Regions from separate parts of the Homo sapiens genome. Here regions 1 and 2 are each linked to region 3. The links are contacts of gene promoters, found by promoter capture Hi-C in blood cells and fetal thymus (Javierre and others, 2016). All regions are on one chromosome and are shown on one strand. The core of a region is centred on a gene start or on the middle of the fragment in contact, and the rest is flanking DNA. Distances in the headings are between cores, read along the strand shown. Region 1 holds the start of SEC22A (SEC22 homolog A, vesicle trafficking protein). Region 2 overlaps MYLK-AS1 (MYLK antisense RNA 1). Region 3 holds the start of IQCB1 (IQ motif containing B1).

The links. The method cuts DNA at HindIII sites, captures the fragments that hold promoters and counts their contacts. A CHiCAGO score of 5 or more calls a contact.
Region 1: the fragment with the promoter of SEC22A here is called in contact with the fragment with the promoter of IQCB1 in region 3 in 5 of 17 cell types (total CD4 T cells, non-activated CD4 T cells, naive CD8 T cells and 2 more); the score reaches 7.5 in total CD4 T cells.
Region 2: a fragment that was not itself captured here is called in contact with the fragment with the promoter of IQCB1 in region 3 in 1 of 17 cell types (naive CD4 T cells); the score reaches 6.6 in naive CD4 T cells.

The regions. Positions count from the first base shown.
Region 1 is chr3:123,200,629-123,203,538 of GRCh38, forward strand. SEC22A (SEC22 homolog A, vesicle trafficking protein) reads left to right here and starts at 1,315. Exons shown (of 7, transcript NM_012430.5): 1 at 1,315-1,358. RefSeq lists enhancers at 872-1,021, 1,032-1,111, 1,352-1,401. The HindIII fragment of the contact is 4,922 bases long and covers 1-2,636 here.
Region 2 is chr3:123,588,466-123,591,439 of GRCh38, forward strand. The region is part of intron 2 of MYLK-AS1 (MYLK antisense RNA 1); the gene reads left to right. Among named protein-coding and RNA genes, the nearest start is that of MYLK-AS1, 4.4 kb to the left of the region's middle. RefSeq lists a silencer at 2,363-2,563. The HindIII fragment of the contact is 1,187 bases long and covers 1,061-2,247 here.
Region 3 is chr3:121,833,716-121,836,783 of GRCh38, forward strand. IQCB1 (IQ motif containing B1) reads right to left here and starts at 1,345. Exons shown (of 15, transcript NM_001023570.4): 1 at 1,251-1,345; 2 at 676-764. EAF2 (ELL associated factor 2) reads left to right here and starts at 1,494. Exons shown (of 6, transcript NM_018456.6): 1 at 1,494-1,676. The coding sequence starts at 1,571. The HindIII fragment of the contact is 9,498 bases long and covers 1-3,068 here.

The DNA.
Region 1 (2,910 bases), core at 65-2,564, 1.4 Mb after region 3:
CATGAGTCAGTAAATGGCTTCTTAATCCATCTAGTTACTTAAGGAGTCATCCTTAATATTCCTTTTTGTTGACCCTTCCCGGCAAACCAATCCGTTATGAAGTCCCTTGGATACCATTTCTAATTTATACATATCTTGAAATTATCTACCTCTTTCTGTCTCTAACTCCCATTACACTAGTTCAAGCCCCATCATTTCTGGCTTTGCCTGACGCAACTGCCTCCAAATGGCTTTCCAGCAGCCCTTCTTGCCCTTTTCCACACTATTCTCCACAAACAGCCTGAGTGATTCTTAAATATGCAAATAGGATCCTACTTAATAGTCTTTATTAGCTGCCCATTGACCTTGGGCTGAGATGAGACAAGGGCCAGACCATGCTGACTCTTATTGGCCACATTACAGATTTCAGGCTGTATTTTGGAAGATATCTTAAGGTCAACGGGCAAAGTTTCTCCTTGCTCCCTACACTCCATCCACACTGACTCCCTTTTAGTTCCTAGAGCACAAGAAGTTCTTTCATGCCCCGACAACCTCACACAATATTTCCTTGGCGGGGAACATTCTCTAAGGCTCTTCAATATGCCTGCCGCTTAAAAGGCACTTATTCAGAAGTCTTTTCCCTGATAGTCCAAAATTAATTGATCATTGCACCCACTAATTTTCCCTCCCAATACTGACAATTTGTAGTTCTGTAACTATTTATGCTTTAATATCTCTTGCTCCAATTACTCCTTAAATTCCATCAAGTGTTATGTCCACTCCTGTAACCCCGTGCTTAACACGGTGCTTGGCACATGGTAAACAGTCAGGAAATGCCTGTTTAATAATGCATGACCGATGCGAAGGCTGGAAGGGGTCGCAGGGTCAGCATCTGGCACTTCTCTGCCATGGTTAGTTTCCTTCTTGTGTGTGGGAATAGACGGGGCCAGGTCTTCTCCTTGCTCACCCAGAGGGGGCTTTTCTCCCTGTCCCCTTTATAAGTGTCTGCTGTAGGGCCGCGTGTGAGAGACAAAATGCCTGCAGAAACAGGGCGGCGAGCGGAAGAGATTGGCCCTATTTCTGAAGTCAACGTAGTTCTGTCATCAGAGGATGCTGTACTTTTCTGGCGCAGGTGCGAGAGAAGCTGCCAATCTCTCCTGGAGCGGGTGGGACTAAGGAGGGCCCCGGGAGCTGGGGGGTTGTTGTGTCCTTCCTGCAGAACCCGATTGGCCTGGGTGAGCTGAGGGAACGGGGGCGTGGTTTGATTCCGCGGGCGCGAGCCACGTTGGACGCGCCGCAGCGTCGCCGAAAGGTCCCTCCCAGGCCCCACAATGCACTTCGGGGCGCGTCACTCGGAGCGGCGGGTCCCGTCTCGACAGGTACTCCCCGGCCCCTCCCAGTCCTCTTCTTCCTTTCTTAGGGGTCGTTCGAATCCCTGCCGGCCTCTCCCCTCCCGCTCCCTGCCTCTCGCCACAGCCTCGGCCTTCGCCCTCGGGATTGAAGACCTACCCCACGGGCAGGAGCCAAGTCCGTGCCTTTGGGATGGGAGTCGGGGCCGCGGAGCTCTGGAGGGACGGGCAAGCGGGGACCCCGTCCCCTTCGACTTGAGGGTTCTCTGGGGCCAGGCGGGCGGCGGTTGCGCCTCGTCTGAGCCGCCTCGGGTGTTGGGCAGCCAGGAAAGGAGTGTTTGAAGGGGAGGGACAGTCGCACTTGGCTGTCAGCATGGTGGTGGGGATTCCCTGGCGCCCAGGTGTCAGAAACACGGTGATCTACCTGTGTAGGTGGCCCATGAGAGCTTGAGGTGGCATTTCCTATTTCTTTTAGGCAGAATGGGACTTGAACCAGTGTCTTACTTTACGTTTTGTGGGGATGGAGTGAGCCCTGAGCCCAGATATTTGCCCGCGTTGGCTCACGGAAATCTCTTGAGACCCTGTCTCAAGAGTCACTTTGGGAACGATGTGGCAGAAGGGAGACCTGAGCAATTGGCTCGGCAAGTGGAGGAGGCTTCCAAAAGAAAAGGACAAGCCCCAGCTGGCTTGAATCTCTCTGCCAGTGAAGACAGCTTAAGATAATTTTTCCCTGCTGCTTAGTTTCCTGGATCATCCACCTGGGGCAGGGGGCGAGCTTGAGAACCAGTCCCTCCTATGCCTATTCAGCCAAGGCAAAGCCTAGCCCAGAGCAAAAGTATCAGCCACCAGACTGGAGATGTTGGGATCTTCAGTCAGGGGAACAGCCACTTTTCAAACTCTGAATCACTTTCCATGTTACTGATATTTGCTTACATGCTAAGATTGTAAGGAATCAGGCAATGCCTTAAACGGTACCTACAATTTCTGATATATTAAGGTTCATTCAGTATTTGACTCTGACACCTGTGACCATATCCTAAAGTAATGGGACATTCGGGTATTTCCTATGTTGAAAACCATCACATCTGTTTAGTGCCTTTTTTTTTTTTTTTTTTTTTTTTTTTTTTTTTTGCGTGCAACTGGTTAAAATCGAAGTATATCTTATGTTGGTATATGAAAGAGGCCTAGGTCTTATCACAGGGGTGCCTGTGACCTTCCTTGAGTGTCTCACAGAGTTGTTAGAATTGGGCCTGAGTTTAAATCCCTACTTTGTCACCTACTCGTTTAGGGATTAAAAAAAATTCCTCAAGCTTTCTGGGCTTGAATTTCCTCAAAGGTAAAATGGAACTAATAATACCTATCTCACAGGTTTTTGGAACGCTTAAATGAGGTAATGTGTATAAAGTGCGTGGTCCATGGAGAGTAATCAATAAATAATACAGCAAATATTTAATGTAGTGCTTTTAGCATGTTACAAGGCAATGTTTCAGGCACTTTACATGATCCTATGAGATAGATACTATTGTCATCTTTAAAACAAGCCTATGAGATAGATGCTATTAGTAGCCACAATATATAGATG
Region 2 (2,974 bases), core at 404-2,903, 1.8 Mb after region 3:
GCGTGGTGGCTCACGCCTGTAATCCCAGCACTTTGGGAGGCCAGGCAGGCAGATCAGGAGGTCAGGAGTTTGAGACCAGCCTGGCCAGTATGGTGAAACCCCATCTTTACTAAAAATACAAAAATTAGCTGGGTGTGGTGGTGCGCGCCTGTAGTCCCAGCTACTTGGGAGACTGAGGCAAGAGAATCGCTTGGAGTTGGAGGTTGCAGTGAGCCGAGATTGCGCCGCTGCACTCCAGCCTGGTGACAGAGCGAGACTCTGTCTCAAAAAAAAAAAAAAATTTCTCTTCCCCCAGTATCCACCCTTTCCCCTTTAAGTACTGAAGCCCTCAAAATCATCTTTGGAGATAGGCATATACCTGCCTCCCTGGCATGCATCCTTTACTATGGCAAATAAACCTCCTAAAATGATTGAGACTTGCCTTGATCGTGTTCTTTGATTTACAGAGTCAAGGTGGGGGCTGGTTAGATCAGATCTCTCTCAGTCATAATTTTCTCACTGTTACAATTTTTGCAAAAGAAGTTTCAAGACCTCAAGAGATGAAGTGAGAGGCATAAGTTGACAATTGTCAGGGTCCCATCCTTTCCCGCCATGGCAGATTGTTCAGAGATTCTGTTGCCTTGTTTTCCTGAAATTTTTTTTTTTTGGAGACGAAGTCTTGCTCTTGTCCCCCAGACTGGAGTGCAATGGCACACTCTTGGCTCACTGCAACCTCCGCCTCCCAGGTTCAAGCAATTCTCCTGCCTCAGCCTTCCAAGTAGCTGGGATTACAGGTGCCTGCCCCCACGCCCAGCTAATTTTTGTATGTTTAGTAGAGACGGGATTTTGCCATGTTGGCCAGGCTGGTTTCGAACTCGTGACCTCAGGTGATCCACCTGCCTCGGCCTCCCAAAATGCTGGGATTATAGGCATGAACCACCACACCCGACCTTCCTGAATTTTTCAAAGAGCAAGTTGGTGAGCCCAAATTGCACACTGTGATCAGAGGGCAAAAAAATTTCTTTGCAAAAGAAATAAAGAAGTGAACCATTTTACAAAACCAAATAATCATTCATCTAAAAGCTTCTTTCATTCATTTGACTGATTTTTTTTTCAATATAATCTACTTAATGGGAAAGTAGGAGGAGGCAGGAATGCATAAAGTTCTGTTCAGTTGGAAATCAGTTTAAAACTCAATGTATCTTCTTGCAGTCACTTAGGCCCAACTCCAGTCTGTTGTTTATAGCAGCAATCTCCAACCTTTTTGGCACCAGGGACTGGTTTCATGGAAGACAATTTTTCCATGGACTGGGGAGGGAATGGTTTCAGGATGAAACTGTTTCACTTCAGATCAGCAGGCATTAGATGGAGCCTGCAACCTAGATCCCTCGCCTGCATGGTTCATGATAGGGCTCGTGTTCCTATGAGAATCTAATGCCGCTGTTGGTCTGGCAGGAGGTGGAGATCAGGTGGTAATGCTCACTTGCCTGCTGCTCACCTCCTGCTGTGTGGCTGGGTTCCTAACAGGCCATGGACCTGTACCAGTCTGTGGCCCAGAGGTTGGGGACCCCTGCTCTACAGTACAGCCAAAGTGATCTTTTCCACATACAACCTTGTTCGTGTCTACTACCTTCCTCTGCCCCACCCCTGAAGATATTTAAATGGCTTTTGATGACACTTAGGATAAAGCATAAAATATTTAATATGGTATACAAAAATCTGCATAGACTAGACCCTACCTGCCTCCTCAGTCTCACCATGCCCCTCCTAGTCATACTGGCCTCATCTTAGGTCTTCCATCGAGCAGTACTCCTTTTTTGCCTCAGGGAATTTGCACATGCTATTCCAATCATACCTTCCCAACAGTACCCCAAAGTCTTAACTCATTTCAGCATTAACTCAAAAGTCCAAGTTCAAAGTCTGATCTGAGACAAGGCAAGTCTCTTTCACCTACAAGCCTGTAAAATCAAAAACAAGTTAGTTACTTCCAAGATACAATGGGGGTACAGGCATTGGGTAAATGTTCTCATTCCACATGGGAGAAATTGGCCAAAACAAAGGGGCCACAGGCCCCATGCAAGTCTGAAACCTGGTTGGGCAGTCATTAAATATTAAACCTCTTAAATACTCTCCTTTGACTCCATGTCTCACATCCAGTGCATGCTGATTGAAGAGGTGAGCTCCTAAGGCTTTGGGCAGCTCTTGCCATGTGGCTCTGCAGGGTACAGTCCCAAAGGCTGCTTTCATGGGCTGGAGTTGAGTGCCTGAAGCTTTTCCAGGTCCAGGGTGCAAGCTGTTGGTGGATCTACCATTCTGGGGTCTGGAGGACAGTGGCCCTATTCTCAGATCCACTAGGTATTGCCCCAGTGGGGACTCTGTGTGGATGCTCCAACCCCACATTTCCCTTTTGCACTGCACTAGTAGGGGTTCTCCATGAGGGCTCCGCCCATGCAGCAGACTTCTGACTGGACATCCAGTCATTTCCATACATCCTCTGAAATCTAGGCATAGGTTTCTAAACCTCAACTCTTGGCTTCTGCACACTTGCAGGCCCAACACCACATAAAAGCTGCCAGGGCTTGGGGCTTGTACCCTCTGAAGCAATGGCCCAAGCTGTACCTTGGCCCCTTTTAGCCATGAGGTGGAGTGGCTGGGACACAGGGCACCATGTCTTGAGGCTGCACACAGCAGTAGAGCCCTGGGCCTGCCTAGCCCAGGAAACTATTTTTCCCTCCTAGGCCTCTAGGTCTGTGATGGGAGGGGCTGTCCTGAAGATCTCTGAAATTCCCTGGAGACATTTTTCCCCATTGTCTCAGCTATTAACATTCAGCTCCTTGTTACTTGTGCAAATTCCTGCAGCCTGCTTGAATATCTCCCTGGAAAATGGGTCTTTGTTTTCTACTGCATGGTCAGGCTGCAAATTTTCCAAACTTTTATGCTCTGCTTCCCTTTTAAACATAAGTTCCAATTTCAGATCATCTCCTTGTGAACGCAT
Region 3 (3,068 bases), core at 95-2,594:
AGGCCATAAAGTCAGAGGACTGGGCTTCTCTGAACCATTTTTCTTGCTGTAAACAAAATAGCAATTCCTACCTCCTAGAATGATTCTATTTAGAAGAGAAGGCAGCCACCAAGATGGTCTTAAAATGTAGTATAAGTGTAGAGCTGGGCCTTAAATAACCATTTGGAGACCTCTTATCATGCTCCAGGAATTGTTCTAATTGCTTTCATGTATTAACTCATTTAATCATTCCAACAACTCTAAGGAACAGATACTATTATTTTTTTCCCAATTTGAACAATGAGCATACTTAAACTCTGGAGAATGTAATTAGCTGGCACAAAGTCACACTGTTAAGTATAAAGCAGGGGTTCAAACTAGAGCCACCATCTGCCTTAAAGCATTTAACTACGATATGAAACAGCTTCGGCACACCTTCAAAGGGTAGGATTTACACAGACAGGTTGAAGGAGACATAACCACCTACCCCAAAATCAATTGACAAATGTGCCTAAGGCAGAAGGTGAGGGAGTGCAGTTGGATTGCGTAATTACCCTGAAAAACCACCTGTTATGGAAACCATCTGTAAACTTTCTCGAGTGTTTCTCCTATAATTCAACACTTCTCCCATCTTTACATTAAATTCATGAAATTTGACACAAAAAGACAATTATTTATCTATTTTAAGGCTACTACCCTGTTGCCAGGCCACCGGGTCCGGCCCAGCCTTGATTCTTCGGGAATCACTTCTCCCTCGCCGCGCCTGTTACTGCCTCCACGGATCACTGTGAGGAAAATAAATGAAAAGGAAATTCAGTGCGATCCTGTTGCGGCTGATCCTAAATGTCTGCAGTTGCTATCTCCGAATCCTCTTTCTCCTCCCCACTACACATCCCCTTCTCCAGTCCTAGGACCACAAGAAACTTCCTCTGGTACAAAAAGGTCAGAAAACGATTACTGAGGTAACAGCGTCGCTTCAAGTCTAAGGACCGAGATTCTGGGGCCTCTGGGCTCCTTTACTCCAGATTCTAGACCCGGCTTTCGCGCTACCAGGCCTTGGATAAGACACTAGGCCCTGTGCCTGGACACTGCACCTCCCCAGGCCTCAGTTTCCACACCAGATCTCTACAGAGTGGGCGTGAGGGCAGGCCGATTCTCCCGTTAAGAGCTCTTACAAGCCGGCTGACTTCGTCCAGGAGCCTGGGGTCCTGGCCTCCTGGTAGGCGCCCTGGGGCCCTCTCCCTCCCCAGCCACCACCTCAGATAAGTTACCTCATCCTCGCTTCGCGTTCTTCCACTAAAGAACCTGGGGCTCCCACGCCGCACTACAGCGCCGCGGCCTTCCGGGGCAGCGTGCGTCGCGACGCGGGAAGGGGCCTGGAGGCGGGACTAGGAGCCTCGGAGTCAAGGGGCGGAGCGCCCTTTGCTAATAAGCCAATCAGAACGTGAGACGCTCCGGTGGGGCGGTGCGCGTCGAGCGCGGGGTGGAGTCTGGGTGACTTGGCTGGCGGGATCAAGTGCAGCTGCTTCAGGCTGAGGTGGCAGATAGTGAGCGCTGGTGGCGGAGTTAAAGTCAAAGCAGGAGAGTAATTATGAATAGCGCAGCGGGATTCTCACACCTAGACCGTCGCGAGCGGGTTCTCAAGTTAGGGGAGAGTTTCGAGAAGCAGCCGCGCTGCGCCTTCCACACTGTGCGCTGTGAGTGAGGACCATCCGGGGATAGAGGGGGAGCCTCCCGGGATGGGGGTGAAGAGGCACAAACCCCTCTGGGTTTTGTTCCCACAGTACCCCTTACACTGTTGGAGACTACGGGGCGGGGAGGGGGGAGGCAGCGCGATCCTCTAACCTGCTCGGAGTCTTAGGGGGTCGGTGGAAGGAATCGGAGTAGAGCAAATGTGGGTAAACCCTGGACAGAGAGCGTTGAGACCAGCAGACAGGAAGGGAAAGTGTGAAAAAAGTCTGTAGAGGTGACTGTGGAGACAGACGTGACAGGTGGATGATGCAGGGGTGGACAGGAAAATAATAAGGTGACAAATGGGAAGGGACTAAGGACCGAATGCCGGGGAACTTGAATGCCTTGAGGCTGGTGGGGCAATATTCTCTCTTTTCATCACTTTTTCTCACCTCTGGCAGATGAGGGTTCTTATTTGGTGTGTTCTTTGCAAAGGGAGAAATTCTCAACCATCCCAATGATCTGTATATCTCTTTGGACCCCAGATTTCACTCAGTTATCAAATACTGATTATCAAAGTATTCGAGGGTGTGTTATTAATTTCTTTATTTGGAAGATGCTTACCTCCCTATGATTTCTACCCTTTGGTTTTCTTTATGTCCTCTGGAACTAGTTTTAATAAATTATTCTCTTTTATGTTGTTGGAGTAGAAAAAGGAGCTCTTTTGCTTTAGCAGTTGGATGATATAGATTCCAGGAAGGAAAATATAGCATATAAGTTTTTATGTGTAAGACATTCGTTTTTTGCATAACAACTGTCATAGAATTGTAGAGCGGGAAGGAAACTTCAAGATCACTGAATTATAACTTCTCATTTTTCTGTGGTAAAACTGTAAGTATTTTTTCACTTCCTTTCCCCAGCCTTGCCCTTCCTTAATATCTCATCATTCCGCCTTTCTCAGTCATTCTGTTCTCGGGTTGTTTAGAGACCTTTATGGTTTTTACTCTGAAATGTTCCATGGTTCAATCAAAACAACTAATTAAAGCATACATTCTCCCAAAAGTTTATTTAAGTTGTAGACAATTTAGTTATAGTTACTCAAAGTAAAGGTATGAAGAACCACTGGTTTTAACCCTGCAAGAATATATTTACTAAAAGGGTTTTTTTAAAGCAAAATTAACATCCAATTGGTAGAATAAATGGGTGAGATATTTGTGAACAGAAACTCTTCAACAGTGTCCCTTGTTTATTCTTCTTTATCATATACTTTCTCATCCAGAGCTCCCCACGATGAGATGGTGCTGTGCTGGCTCTGCAGTTTCTCTCTCTTCAGTCCCATTTTCCGGAAGTGTGATATGCGTCTTTATCTGGTTTTTCCATGCCTTTTTCTCAAATAGTATCTACTCTCTCCTTTTCTC